Linked DNA regions of Homo sapiens: region 2 is linked to region 1. Evidence: promoter capture Hi-C in 16 types of primary human blood cells and fetal thymus (Javierre and others, 2016). All regions are on one chromosome and are shown on one strand. Each heading gives the region's core, a stretch centred on a gene start or on the middle of the fragment in contact. The rest is flanking DNA. Distances are from core to core; before and after follow the strand shown.

Region 1 (6,573 bases), core at 658-3,157:
TAGTAAGTCACTATAGTAAACACTTAAAAATAACAGAACCTCATTTCTCTAGTGTTGTTCAGTATGGGAGCCACTAGCCACATGTGGCTACTGAGCATTTGAAATATGGCTAGTTTAAATTGAGATGTTTTGTAAGGGCAAAATACACACCAGATCTCAAGGACTTAGTATGAAAAAAAAACCAGTATAATTTTTATATTGATGACATGTTGAAAACAATATATTGGTTACGTTGGGATAAATAAAATATTAGTTTTGCCTGTTTCTTTTTACCTTTATAAAACGGTTACTGGAACATGTAAAATTATGCGTGTGGCTCACATTATATTTCTGTTGGACAGTGCTGCTCTGGTATACTCAAAAATAGAATTTGATCTATAAGCATCTTTTTAGCAGTACATTTCTTGCTTTAAGTAAGTGTACCTGTACACCAGAGACAGGCTCATTTCAAAAGAAGGACAGGGAGGAGTGGCGATTTGAAAATGGGGAAACTGATTATAGAAGAAAGTCAGGACTCTGCCTCAGTTACCTGTCAGTCTGGGGGTGGGGGATGCTGGGACAGGGGTCAATTGCCTGAAGCAAGTGCTCTCATCCCCCTAGCTCCTGCTGATCTAGTTGGGGCTCCAGAGTGGGGAGGAGAAAGGCACTTTGAAACTTCTCTGCCCTTACCGTCTTAGCCATCAAACTCTGAGCTGGAGATAGTGACGATGTGACAGGAACTTTCCCTGGGCCTCTCTGGGCCACAATTCCTGGCCGAGAGAAAGAGGAGGAATGAGGTGAGCACCTTCTTCACTCCTAGGGCCATGTGGTAGAGCTGCAGTCGCACCTCCTTCTGCCAATAGGCATAGATGAGTGGGTTGAGCAGGGAGTTGCCCACGCCGAGCAGCCACAGGTACCGTTCCAGCACTAGGTAGAGGTGACACTCCTGGCAGGCCACCTGCACAATGCCAGTGATAAGGAAGGGGGTCCAGGATAGAGCAAAGCTCCCAATGAGAACAGACACAGTACGGAGAGCTTTGAAGTCGCTGGGAGTCCGTGGGGATCGATAACCTCCAGCCATGGCTCCTGCATGTTCCATCTTTCGAATCTGCTGGCTGTGCATGGAGGCAATCTTGAGCATGTCGCAGTAGAAGAAGACAAAGAGGAGCATGGCTGGGAAGAAGCCAACGCAGGAGAGGGTCAGCACGAAGTGAGGGTGAAATACAGCAAAGAAGCTGCACTGCCCTTTGTAGGCAGTCTGCTGGAACATGGGGATTCCGAGTGGGAGGAAGCCAATGAGGTAAGACACTAACCACAGCCCGGCAATGCAGGCCCCGGCCACGAACCCACTCATGATCTTCAAGTAGCGGAAGGGCTGCTTGATGGCAAGGTACCTGTCAAAGGTGATCAGCATGACCGTGAGGACAGAGGCAGCTGCGGAGGAAGTGACAAATGCCATCCGCAGGCTGCACAGGGTCTTCTGTGTGGGCCGAGAAGGGCTGGAGAGCTGGTCTGTGAGTAGGCCAGAGATGGCCACACCAATCAAGGTGTCAGCCACAGCCAGATTCAAGGTGAAGCAGAGACTGACACCATCATTCTTGTGGATCAACAGCAGCACAGCCACAGCCACTAGTGTGTTAGTAGCAATGATGAGGGAGGCCAGGACAGCAAGGATCACTCCAAATGAGAAAGATGATTCCATGTCTCGAAGTGGCAGGACTTCACTTACCAGGGCATGCTATCTCTCCAGCTGAAATTCTCATGGGCCAGGGGCAGAGGAGCTGTGGGTTCAGAGCTACAGCACGATTCTGGCCTTCGCTGGCAGTCCAGGCTGGCAGGTCGCCATCTTTGGGATCCTACAGGTCATGAAGAATTACTCACCCTCTCTTTTCAGTCCTCAGCCTCCTGCCTCTCCAGCTCTCTAAAGGCAGCAACTTCAGTATAGACCTCCCCCTGGGCCCTGAGCTAGTCCCTCCCCCTCCAACCAGCAAGTTACTAGACAACTCCCAAGTACCTGTACATGCTGTCTCGCCAGGCCCTCTCCCTTCACTGGTGCTTCAGGGACTCTGGAGGGACAGGGACATTCATCAGGTCTCCTGTCTGTCAAAAGATATAATTGACTCCAATCATACTTTTTTCTTCCTCCATACCTTGACATTAAATTTCTACTTTTCTTCCAAAACCTCGAGTACCAGCTTAAATAATTAATCTCAGCTTAATTAAGCTTTTTCTTACTAATTCTCAATTACTATTATGAATTGCTTTTAATCAAGCAAGATGCTCATAATCAGTTGAAGTGGGAAGTGAGGGAAGGTGAGCTTTTTGAGGGGCCCCAGCATATTTTCAGGAGTGCTACCACACATTTAAGCTGTTTCTTACCTTTTGCTTCCTAGCGCCTCAAATTCTAATTCTCTCAAGTAGGGCGTGCTGTTCCCCCGTTTCTCATCCCTAGGATCTCAGTTGAGGATTCAGGACAGGAAAAACAGGGCCAAAAACTGTTAACAGCTGTCATTCAGTTTAGAACCCATTCTCCACCTCACGCTGCTGTCTCTCAAGTATACTAATTGATAATTATTTCTGCAGCATGTTGGGCCAGGTCTGGTCAGTGAGTAGTGGCTGCTGGGCTTGCCTTTCTTAATCCTATAGACCTGAGGTATCTCTGCGGGAGGAGAAGAGGAGATGAGCTGCATTCTGGGAAGTGTCTGCTTGATGTTTGGCTATGGAATTTTCCATTTTCCAGGAATAGGAACGTGGGGGCGGTTGAGGGGGGGAGGTTAGACCAAAGGGCAACTGTGTTGCTGAAGCAGGTGAGATGCACTCTGGAGGGGCAGCTGCATAAGTCACTCCTGTTTTAGGATGTGTATCCATTTGCTTGGGTACATTAGAACTACCCTTTCGCCTGCCACTCTCATCTTGGATACCAAGAAGAGAGGGGTGGGGAGAAGAGTGGTTAGAAGCTTATTTACTCAGTTCAGGTGAGAGCACAAATGGGAAAGGTTAGTGTTTGAAGTGAGGGAATAGAGAGCAAGGTGCAGAGTTGGACGCAAATATATTCCAGGATGTTTTGACAGTCTGAGAGGGCCTTTGGCAGATGTCTCTCCTAAAAAAGGATCAGAAAGACTGTGTTGTGGGGATTCAGTATTCTAGTTGCCATCCTGAAAACAGTTCTTATTCTTTGGTATGTCCATTAGGAGATTGATTCCAGTTGCTTAGAACCTAGCCTAATTTTATACCTGGACCTAAGGTGTGCTTGGGTTTCCCCAGCTCTTGACTCCACGGAGTCAAGTTAGCCCTTTTCAAACCCATGTTCAAACTTGAGAGTGTATCAGAATCACCTGGAGGGTGTCTTAAAACCCAGGTTCTTGGGTCCTACTCCCAGAGTTTCAGGTCATTGGTGAGTCTGAGAATCTGCATTTCTTTCTTTCTTTTCTTTTTTATTTTTATTTTTATTTTTTTTTTTTTTTGAGAAGGAGTTTCGCTCTTGTCGCCCAGGCTGGAGTGCAATGGTGTGATCTCAGCTCACTGCAACCTCCACCTCCCAGGTTCAAGCAATTCTCCTGCCTCAGCCTCCTGAGTAGCTGGGATTACAGGTGTGCAGCCACCACGCCCAGCTAATTTTGTATTTTTAGTAGGGACGGAGTTTCACCGTGTTGGCCAAGCCGGTCTCGAACTCCTGGCCTCAGGTGACCCACCTGTCTGGGCCTCCCAAAGTGTTGGGATTACAGGCGTGAGCCACCGTGCCTGGCCAGAATCTGCATTTCGAACAAGTTCCCAGATACTGCTGTTACTTGCTCAGGGACCACACTTTGAGAAGCACTGCTCTAGTGCAATGGTTCTTACCCTTAGCAGTGCATTGGAATCACCTGGTGATTCCAAAAAATACTGCTGTTTGGGCCACACACCAAGAGATTCTAACATAATTATTCTGGGTGGTAACTGTGCAATGGGAGTTTTAAAAGTTCCTTGGGTGATTCTAATATTCAGCCAGGGTTGAGAACCACTGTCCTTGGTTTCCTCATGTGTAACATGGGGACAGTCATAGTTATATCACAAGGTTGTGAGGATGATAAAACGAGGTATGATATGGGCAAAGACTTCATGATTAAAACACCAAAAGCAATGGCAACAAAAGCCAAAATTGACAAATGGGATCTAATTAAAGCGCTTCTGCACAGTAAAAGAAACTATCATCAGAGTGAACAGGCAACCTACAAAATGGGAGAAAATTATTACAATCTATTCATCTGACAAAGGGCTAATATCCAGAATCTACAAGGAACTTCAACAAATTTACAAGAAAAAAACAACCCCATCAAAAAGTGGGTGAAGGACATGAACAGACACTTCTCAAAAGAAGACATTTATGCAGCCAACAAACATATGAAAAAATGCTCATCATCACTGGTCATTAGAGAAATGCAAATCAAAACCACAATGAGATACCATCTCATGCCAGTTAGAATGGCAATCATTAAAAAGTCAGGAAACAACAGATGCTGGAGAGGATGTGGAGAAATAGGAATGCTTTTACACTGTTGGTGGGAGTGTAAATTAATTCTGCCATTGTGGAAGACAGTGTGGTGATTCCTCAAGGATCTAGAACCAGAAATACCATTTGAGCCAGCAATCCCATTACTGGGTATATACCCAAGGGATTATAAATCATTCTACTATAAAAACACATGCACACATATGTTTATTGCAGCACTATTCACAATAGCAAAGACTTGGAACCAACCCAAATGCCCATCAATGATAGACTGGATAAAGAAAATGTGGCACATATACATCATGGAATACTATGCAGCCATAAAAAAGAATGAGTTCATGCCCTTTGCAGGGACTTGGATGAAGTTGGAAACTATCATTCTCAGCAAACTAACATAGGAACAGAAAACCAAACACCACATGTTCTCACTCATAAGTGGGAGCTGAAAAATGATAAGAACATATGGGCACAGGGAGGGGAACATCACACACCAGGGGCCTGTTGGGCGGGTGGGGGGCAAGGGAAGGGATAGCATTAGGAGAAATGCCTAATGTAGATGACAGATTGATGGGTGCAGCAAATCACCATGGCACATGTATACCTATGTAACAAACGTGCACGTTCTGCACATGTATTCCAGAACTTAAAGTATAATAAAAATAAATAAAAATAAATTTTTAAAAATGAGGTATGATAGTTATGAAAAGGCTTCATAAAGTGTAAAATGTTACATGGGTATCCAGTGTCTTCTAGTCTCTGCTAATCAAATTAACACACTGTTAATCAAAGTGTGTATCAGAAGCATTGTTATGACCTGAGAGCTTGTTAGAAATGCAGAAGCTCGGCCAGGCACACTGGCTTACGCCTGTAATCCCAGCACTTTGGGAGGCTGAGGCGGGCAGATCACTTGAGGTCAGGAGTTCAAGACCAGCCTGGCCAACATGGCGAAACCCAGTCTCTACTAAAAATATGAAAATGAGCTGGGCGTGGTGATGGGTGTCTGTAATCCCAGCTACTCGGGAGGCTGACGCAGGAGAATTGCTTGAACCTGGGAGGTGGAGGTTGCGGTGAGCCAAGATTGCGCCACTGCACTCCAGCCTGGGTGATAGAGTGATACTATGTCTCAAAAAAAAAAAAAAAAAAAAGAAAGAAAGAAAGAAGAAATGCAGAATCTCAGGCCTTACTCAAGACCTAGTGATGCAGTCTGCAGTTTAACAAGATCTCCAGGTGATCTGCATGCACATTTATCTTTGCCTCTCTCCTACTCTCAGGTGTCTAGCTGTATTAGTTTTCTTTTGCTGCTGTAATGAACTACCACAAACTGACTTAACACGAATGTAGTATCTTACAATTATCAAGGTCAGAAGTCCAAAGTGGGTCTTACAGGGCTGAAGTCAAGGTGTTAGCTGAGCTGTGTTCCTTCGGGAGGCTCTAGGGAAGAGTCCATTTCCTCAACTTTTTCAGCTCTCAGAGGCTGCTTGCACTCCTAGGCTCCTGGACACATCACTCCATGGTCACGTCTTCTTCTCTGACCTTCCTGTTTCCCTTTTTTTTTTTTTGGGACAAAGTCTCACTCTGTCGCCCAGACTGGAGTGCAGTGGCGCCATCTTGGCTCATCACAACCTCCGCCTCCCGGGTTCAAGCGATTCTCCTGCCTCAGCCTCCTGAGTAGCTGGGATTAGAGGCATGTGCCACCACGCCCAGCTAATTTTTTTGTATTTTTAGTAGAGACGGGGTTTCACCATGTTGGTCAGGCTGGTCTCGAACTCCTGACCTCGTGATCCGCCCGCCGTGGCCTCCCAAAGCGCTGGGATTACAGACATGAGCCACCACACCCGGCCCCCTGTTTCCCTTTTTAAAGGACCCTTGTGATGACATTGGGTCCACCTGGACAATCCAGGATAACTCCTCCATTTCAGGATCCTTAACTTAATCACATCTGCAAGTATCTTTTGCCATGTGAAGTCACATATTCACAGGTTCCTAAGATTAAGACACGAACATCTGTGTTGAGGGACATTTTTCTACCTACCACGCTGGTATTCTCTGCTGCATGGATCTCTTCCCCCCCAAACCCCCCTTCAACAGTCTGCCATTGGAACCAG
Region 2 (7,408 bases), core at 2,032-4,531, 500 kb after region 1:
TAACCTCTGCCTCCCGAGTTCAAGCGATTCTCCTGCTGCAGGCTCCCACGTAGCTGAGATTACAGGAACCCACCACCATGCCCGGCTAATTTTTATATTTTTAGTAGAGACAGGGTTTTGCCACGTTGGCCACGCTGGACTCGAACTCCTGACCTCAAGTGATCCACCCCCCTCGGCCTCCCAAAGTGCTGGGATTACAGGCGTGAGCCACTGTGCCTGGCCAAATGTTAGCTATTCTTATTATTGTGTTTATATATGGCTGGGGAGACACACACTCAACTGTACTATGCTCAATAATGTCAATCAGTATAGTTTAGCAGCCCCATTTGCAGTATACTATCCTACATAAATAGCATGCCTTAATTATTGTATTATTCATAATAAGCATATTAAGTCCTTTTTGGAAAAAGGCAAATATGAATAAATTTTCGAATTTGTTAATATTCTTGGTGATCCCCTTAAATAAGCTAGTGCAAGCTGGCTCCAGCACACCACGGACTGGTGTATACTAACCTTTATATTCCCGTCCATGAGACCTGCCCTTCACTCCTCTAAAACACGCTCATAGGTGTACCAAAGAGGAAAATCCATCAGACGACTCAACTTCAGCTCCCTGAACAACCAGAACCTACAAATCTCCCTCTTGAATTTTTCTTGGCCTCAAACAAGACAAGGAAAAAGTAACTATTTTGTAGATGAAAGACTTTTTCTTTAGCCAATAAGAAAATGTCAATTTCTTTAAAAGCCCCAATAAATTCTTTTTCATTTATATTCAGAGTGCCTATTCCTAGAAAAAGGAACACAGTGAGGGATGTTAGCCAGAGCTTCCAACTACGTAGGACATTTGCCACCTGAAACCAAGTTTAATATGGAACTTCCAATTTCATGCCTAGTTTGCCCAGTTCTCCTTCCTCTAATCCTGATCTGTTCCCCGAAGTTCCCACCTGTATTTTTTAAGTGTCAAATTCATTTAAGTCTAAAGAATGATAAAAGGGCTTCATATCATCCTCCTTTCTTTTTTGCCAGAAGGAAATAATATGAGGACAGATTTACTTTAAGACATGTTAAAATATAAAGATACCATCTTAGATAAGGGTAAATTCCAATTACATGGTATCTGAGATAATATATTCATTACCATCTTAAAGTCTCATAAACAGATTATAACAATACTTGCTCTATCTCTGGCCCATTTTCTTATCAACATTCTCAAATGTTCATTGTCAAATGCTGAAGAAGAGTTGTCTATGGCGTGAACATCGAGTCATTAATCTAGTACACGGGACAGTCTCTAATAAATTCAGATATAAAAATGGCCCCTTCAAGAATGTTTACTGAAGGGGTCCTAAAGAAAGTTTTACCAGAGAGCTTGTATGAGCCATTCAAGTAGTTGGGTTCATTTGATGAATTGATAATGTGGCTTTAAATAGTATTCCTTTCTTCAGTGGGACAAAAAGCATTTTTTCCCTTAAAACTAATTAATTTAAAATTGAGAAACCATTTGGAAATTTTAAAAGATAAGAATGCTGATCTATGAGAGAGAGAGAGAGAGAGAGAAAGAGAGACACAGAGACAGAGACAGACAGAAAGAAAGAAAAGTGTGAACCTGAATTAGCTGTATATTTTTTCTGCTGATCTGGACAAAATACTCAAATTTCAAAAACATATAGCACTTCACATTCATAGCCAGTATATCTTAAAATACATATACTTTCATGGAAACAATCTTATAAGTTCATCCAGTACAACAGTACAAACAAACTAGCTTTTTAGAAGAGAAAATACTCCATACTAACCTTTTGGAATAGACAACATTTTGCTTCCCCAAAATTTCACAAAGCTCTACTTTCATTCATATTGATGTACACATTAATCAAAACACTAGTGTTTCTTACACATCTGTAAAATTAATCTTGAAATCACACACATATTCAAATAAATGCTAGACTAAAAATAGTTTTGAAAACATCTCTAGCGTCCTATCCAAGAATACATTTTTCAGTAAATGACCAAATTTATCCTCCTTCTCTAGTAGCATAAGTCACATTTACCTGGCACCCATCAACCGAGAGGCAGCCTGATATCAGGGAGGAAAAAGCACAGATTCTTTAATCAGATAATGTAACCTGTAAGTTTAGGCTGCACTTAGATGGAGACCTCAGGCCAGTTACTCATCCTGAGTCTCAGTTTTCTTACCTATAAAATGGAGATCATATCACTGACCTCACACTTACTGAGAATGAACTAAGAAAGTATATATTAAATCACTGTCTAAATGTTTTATACCACATCCACTATCATTCAGTAACCAACAACTACACTAATATTGTAATTTTTAATAGAGTAAAACCATTAAGGAATTAAACATGTATTCACTATTAGCATACAAATAAAATACAGTCATAAAAGCCACCTAGTTAGATTTGAAATTATTCATTAGGTCACTGTGGAATTGAGAGCTGGCAAGGAGATAATGTCGTTTTTAAAATGTAAACATTTTTATTAGCAGAGAGAAGTTCTTCCCAGATATAGTAATTCCAGTAGCATAACAAAGTCCAGCATTTTTCATTGCCAGAAACTTAAACCAGTAACACTGGTCCATGAGAAATCTCTATTTATTCAACAAAGCAATATTTTCCATGTAAATCTATTTAATTTTATAGTGGAGAAAATAAGACAATCTCTGGTTTTAACCGTAAGAAAAAAGCCTCAACAACTTCTCACATTAAAATGTACACAGAAGGCTCTTCTAGAGTCAAGCATGCATTGGAATACAGAGAAAACATCCAGCAAGCACAACTTTCCAACACTTAGCAGAACCAACCAACCAATACTCAAAGAAGAAACTGAAGCTATAAATTCAAATAAATGGGCTGCAGGGAGACTACACAAACCTGCTGTTGCTTTAATTGCAGACAATTCAATTCAGCAGCTGTTGGTCCAGGCACTAAGGTTCACTGTATGCTCTTCAACGTAACCTTGAAATATTGTCACTCACTCACTTCTCCACATCATCTGCATGCTGTCCAATTAATGAGGAGCGAAATCAACTGTCAAACCACGCATCAAAATAGAACATGATCTTTTAGCTGTTAAGCGTAGGAGCATAATATTTTAAGAATAATAAAGCAACAATGGAGATGAAAGTCCTTGACAACAAATGATATTCAAACTTATCAAAACAACGTGGTTGTAGGAACTAAGCTTCTGTTCTGTGAAGCAAGAAAGTGAAACTTTCTCAGGGTTTTTCATTTGCAAGGGACCTTTCTGTCTAACTGCTGTGTAAGAAGCCTTTCAAAAAACATTCGCCCATACCTGATCAGAATCTTCTTCATTATTATGGACCATTATGTTTCTGAAAGCTTAAGAGAATACTTAAGAAACACTTTTGATCCAAGGATATTTTACAATACAGATGGTTTGGGGCTCGTATTTGTAGCTTTGCTGTTTCCAGCACTTTTTTTTTTCTGTCAGGAGAATAAACAAACAACAATAATATATAATGTTCATCAACCTGAGTTCAGTAATGAAAAATAACTAAATTTACCAAACAGATGTGTCCTGGAATGCTTCCTGTTTGAAGTTTCCCTACTCTTAGGTATATCCCAAATCTATACAACCAATTAACAAATACAGGAGTTAATAAACTCTAGAGAAACATAACACACTAAGTGTTTAAAAATTGCTTTTTGCTTCCAAAGCACTGTCTTCTGTGCAAACACTCTAAGCTATATCACATACTACCAGTTGCAGACATAAGACTTGAGAAATTCAATACAAGAATACAGCAGAGAAGCGTGCACAATTAAGGGATCGGGACTACCAGTTTAACAGAAAACGCAGATTTTATACAGCAATCTGCTACAAACATTATAGCTGGGGGCAGGCATGTTTTATGCAGCTATTTTGTTTAGCTCATTAGAACCCTATTTGTCCTTCAGTACAGTTGAACTGAAGGAAAAATAAAAGAAAGAAATGCACTTTGAAACAAAGGGGAAATTCAGATAAAACAAAACATACTATACCTGTATATTGTACCAGGAACATTGTGACACTCTTCAGGGAACTGTTTCACGTTGTATCCTATCGTGAGTTATTCTCTCCTTACCCTCTTCTCTCCACAAGAAGAAAAGCCAAAGCACCCCAAACCCCCACTATACCCTATCCCTAACCCACCCACCCCATTGAGGAAAAAGAAAAATAGCTATAATTCAGCTTAGATCTGACGCTTCTGTTTAGCTCAGCTCCAGCCGAGCAACTGAGCTTCAGCAACGGAGCATAGGGAGGAGGATTCTGATGCCAGTAGCACTTCCATCCACTTCACTTACACAAAAGCAGGCAGTGGAAAATCCAGGAGCCTTGAAGACAAGGGCTGGAACTGGCTTTTATGAATTGCTATTACTGCATGTGTCACCATCCATCTCCAATGACGGACACTTATAGGCTGAATTGGGAGTGGAGGGGGTGGGGTGGAGGAGGTTGGAGAGCAGGTGGAGAAGCAATTAGCAGTATGTTCATTGGAGAATTCGTTCGGGATTTCATACATCAGTGCCTAAAGAAACAGCATGCAGTTGACAAATCAGAACTTTACGATTTGCATGCCTTGGAAGAAATCTTAGCTCACAGCTCCAAACAAAATAATGTTTGCCCACTCTTACAGGGCACAGAAAGTCACCCCTTTGCTTTTTCTTTCCTCTGGCTACCCTTATTCCTGAGAAATCAACATTCAGAATGAATATTTGCTAATTTTCCCTAAAGAATTGTATTTTTAAAAGGCTGGAAGCAAAGGAAGTATAAAGAAATTAAATTCTATTGAACATGACATCTCTTAACACAAAGGCAAGAAGCTAATTATTTTAAGGCAATTCTTCATCCCTAGTCCCATTCCCCAAGCGCAGCTTTCACACCTATAATCAGTGGATCACACAACTTTTGTCCATATATTTAACACTGAAAAACAAATCTATGTCTACCTAAAAATAGTTCAGTTAAAATGAAGGTGAAAAGCCAAGAGCTATGTGCAGGACCCACTTCATTAGGTGACTTGAGAAAGCACTTTACATGTAAGTGCTTCAGTTTTACTCATCCACTAAACTAAAGCTCATTTTTAGACGGATTTTAAAATTAATCACGAGTAGGAACAAAAAGGAGATAGTGTCTTTGGGAGGAAACATGATACAACCGAAGGAGCACTGGGGCTGGGTATCAGGAAACCTGGGTTCAGCTTCCAGTTCTACAACTTTCTAACTATGTGACTCTGGCCAAGTCACTTAACTTCTTTGAGCCTAAGTTCCCTTTATTTGTTAACTGGAGATAATAGTACCTATCCTGACTGTCTCACAGGATTGCTGTGAACAGCTAATGAGATAATAGGTATGAAAACCCTTTTGTAAATTGTAAAGGGTTATACAATTGTATGGGATTATTACTACCATGCCCTAAACAAATCTTGCCTTAATGATTGAAGTGAGGCACCTCTATCACATAAGGCAAATAAAAAGAAAGAACTAATATAATTTCATGAAACACTGCTCAATTCTTACAATTTTTAAATTAGACGGAATCGCTGTTTGCTCTTAAAATTCTATAGCAGGGAACGTTTTTGAGAAAATTTTAAAATAATACATCAAAAGTTTATTAAAGAGACTGGAGCCCTCTAAATTCTCTCTTTCCTTTCTGGAAAGTCAGTCCATTTTTCTTCATATGGTCTAGCATTATGTCCCATCTGGAATGCAAACTACTAGATAATGAGCATCTCCTTTTGTTCAAGCTTTCTATTTGCCTGTTACATCCTCATTGCCCAGTGTGTTGGGGGAGGATTCAAGGTGATTAACTAAATCTAAATCCACAAGGTAAAAATCCAAAGTTATGCTTTATGAGGCTCCAAGCTGCCTTGATCCTATGTATACAGTGACCAGCTGGCTTCAGCTGGGACACAATTTTAGCACATGAAGTCCTGGGGTGGCCACACCTGGGGCACTAAATGATCCAGGCAATGTTTGGGGATCTTTGGTTCAGCCAAATCCCACATGTCCTGATTTCCATCTGTATGGTGGTTCCCAAGTGTGTTTGTCCACATGAACCAAATCTGAAGCAGCCAAAAGAAAGGTGGGGGATAGAGCAGGGATATCAGATGTCAGCTCCTCTTGGTCCCATCCAGTGCTATCTGTGCCCTCAAACAAGTGCCCATCCTACTTCTTGTAAGAAGAAAGAAAACTTTTTCTAATTGCCCCTTTGAACGTCATTGCTACTACTGAAGATGCCAGTAAAATATATATCCAAAATCTATGTTAAGCCAATTGGGAAAAGGATAATATTAATCACATAACAGGTAATTGGTAGCTAAGAGCAAGTGAGCTGCTGAAAGGGGGAAGGGGAGAAAAAGACAAGAGAGGAGGAGGGAAACAGAGGGGAGGGGTGGAGAAAAGAGAAAATGAATCTAAAGTGAGAGCTTTCTAATCAGAAACATACTTGCTGAAATCATCCAAAGTCTCACCTACTATAATAAAAAGTGCTTGTCTTTTGAGGTATTGGGAGTGGCCCCCTAACCATCAAAGCTGCAAACCTAGCCTTCCAACTGCTTAGGGAAACAGTCAAGAGCCTGAAAAGGTACTGACAGCCCTAGCACCAGATCTCACTTTCCTCTGCCATTCAGAAAGTGAGTCAGGTGGGATACAATTCTCCAGAGGCCTCATCCCTGCTACCGTCCACCACAGCCTCACTGGCAGCATGGCTGCCCACTAAGGAAGGTGTCAGTCCAATTTCAGGTTCAGCAAAGGAGGCTTGCCTGTGACTTTTAAAACCACATTGGTAAGAAAGGAACAAAGGCTGTATTTCAGAATAGGACTGTTCTCCCTTTGGGCATTGCAACTAAACTCCTTCACAAATTTAAGCTTGAAATTCATATTCCCCAAGTTCCTCAGAAGGGCCATTCAAAGTAAAGGGAAAGGACAGGAAAGATGATTTTTTTTTTGTTAGCTTCTTTCTGACAGTCAAAAAATGAGGAATATGACTGACAGAGTGTCCCAAAAGGCAATGAGGTGGGAGGCAGTAGTTTCAACCCAGGTTAGCAAGAAGGGCAATGAAAGCATCCTTATAAAAACAAACACGCATACCAAAAACCATTGCACTGTTTCCATTATCCCGATTTCAAGCTCCAGAATGTAAGCACTAATGGTTCCCTAAACCACCCAAGCTCCTCCTCGGCAGCCGTCACCAAGCCTGACTGATTTTTTTCAAATGAATTTCCATCACTAGCCACCCCAGATTCTGAGTATTTTTGTCAAAAACAAAAGTCCTAGTGGAAGATTTCAAAGAACTAAGAACTTGAACCAAACCATGAACTTAAACGGGAAGACACAGAACTAATTTGCTAAATTCCAAACAAAACAGAAATTGTAACAGTTTG

What was found. Contacts are between HindIII fragments. The CHiCAGO score rates a contact against its expected background, and 5 or more counts as called.
Region 2: a contact is called between a fragment that was not itself captured here and the fragment with the promoter of GPR119 in region 1, in 7 of 17 cell types (naive B cells, total CD8 T cells, fetal thymus and 4 more). The highest score is 8.6, in naive B cells.

The regions. Positions count from the first base shown.
Region 1 is chrX:130,383,767-130,390,339 of GRCh38, forward strand. It overlaps GPR119 (G protein-coupled receptor 119), which reads right to left and starts at 1,908. Exons shown (of 2, transcript NM_178471.3): 1 at 670-1,908. The coding sequence starts at 1,681. The coding sequence ends at 674. The HindIII fragment of the contact is 2,318 bases long and covers 1-2,201 here.
Region 2 is chrX:130,883,189-130,890,596 of GRCh38, forward strand. The region is part of intron 2 of ENOX2 (ecto-NOX disulfide-thiol exchanger 2); the gene reads right to left. Among named protein-coding and RNA genes, the nearest start is that of ENOX2, 16 kb to the right of the region's middle. The HindIII fragment of the contact is 158 bases long and covers 3,203-3,360 here.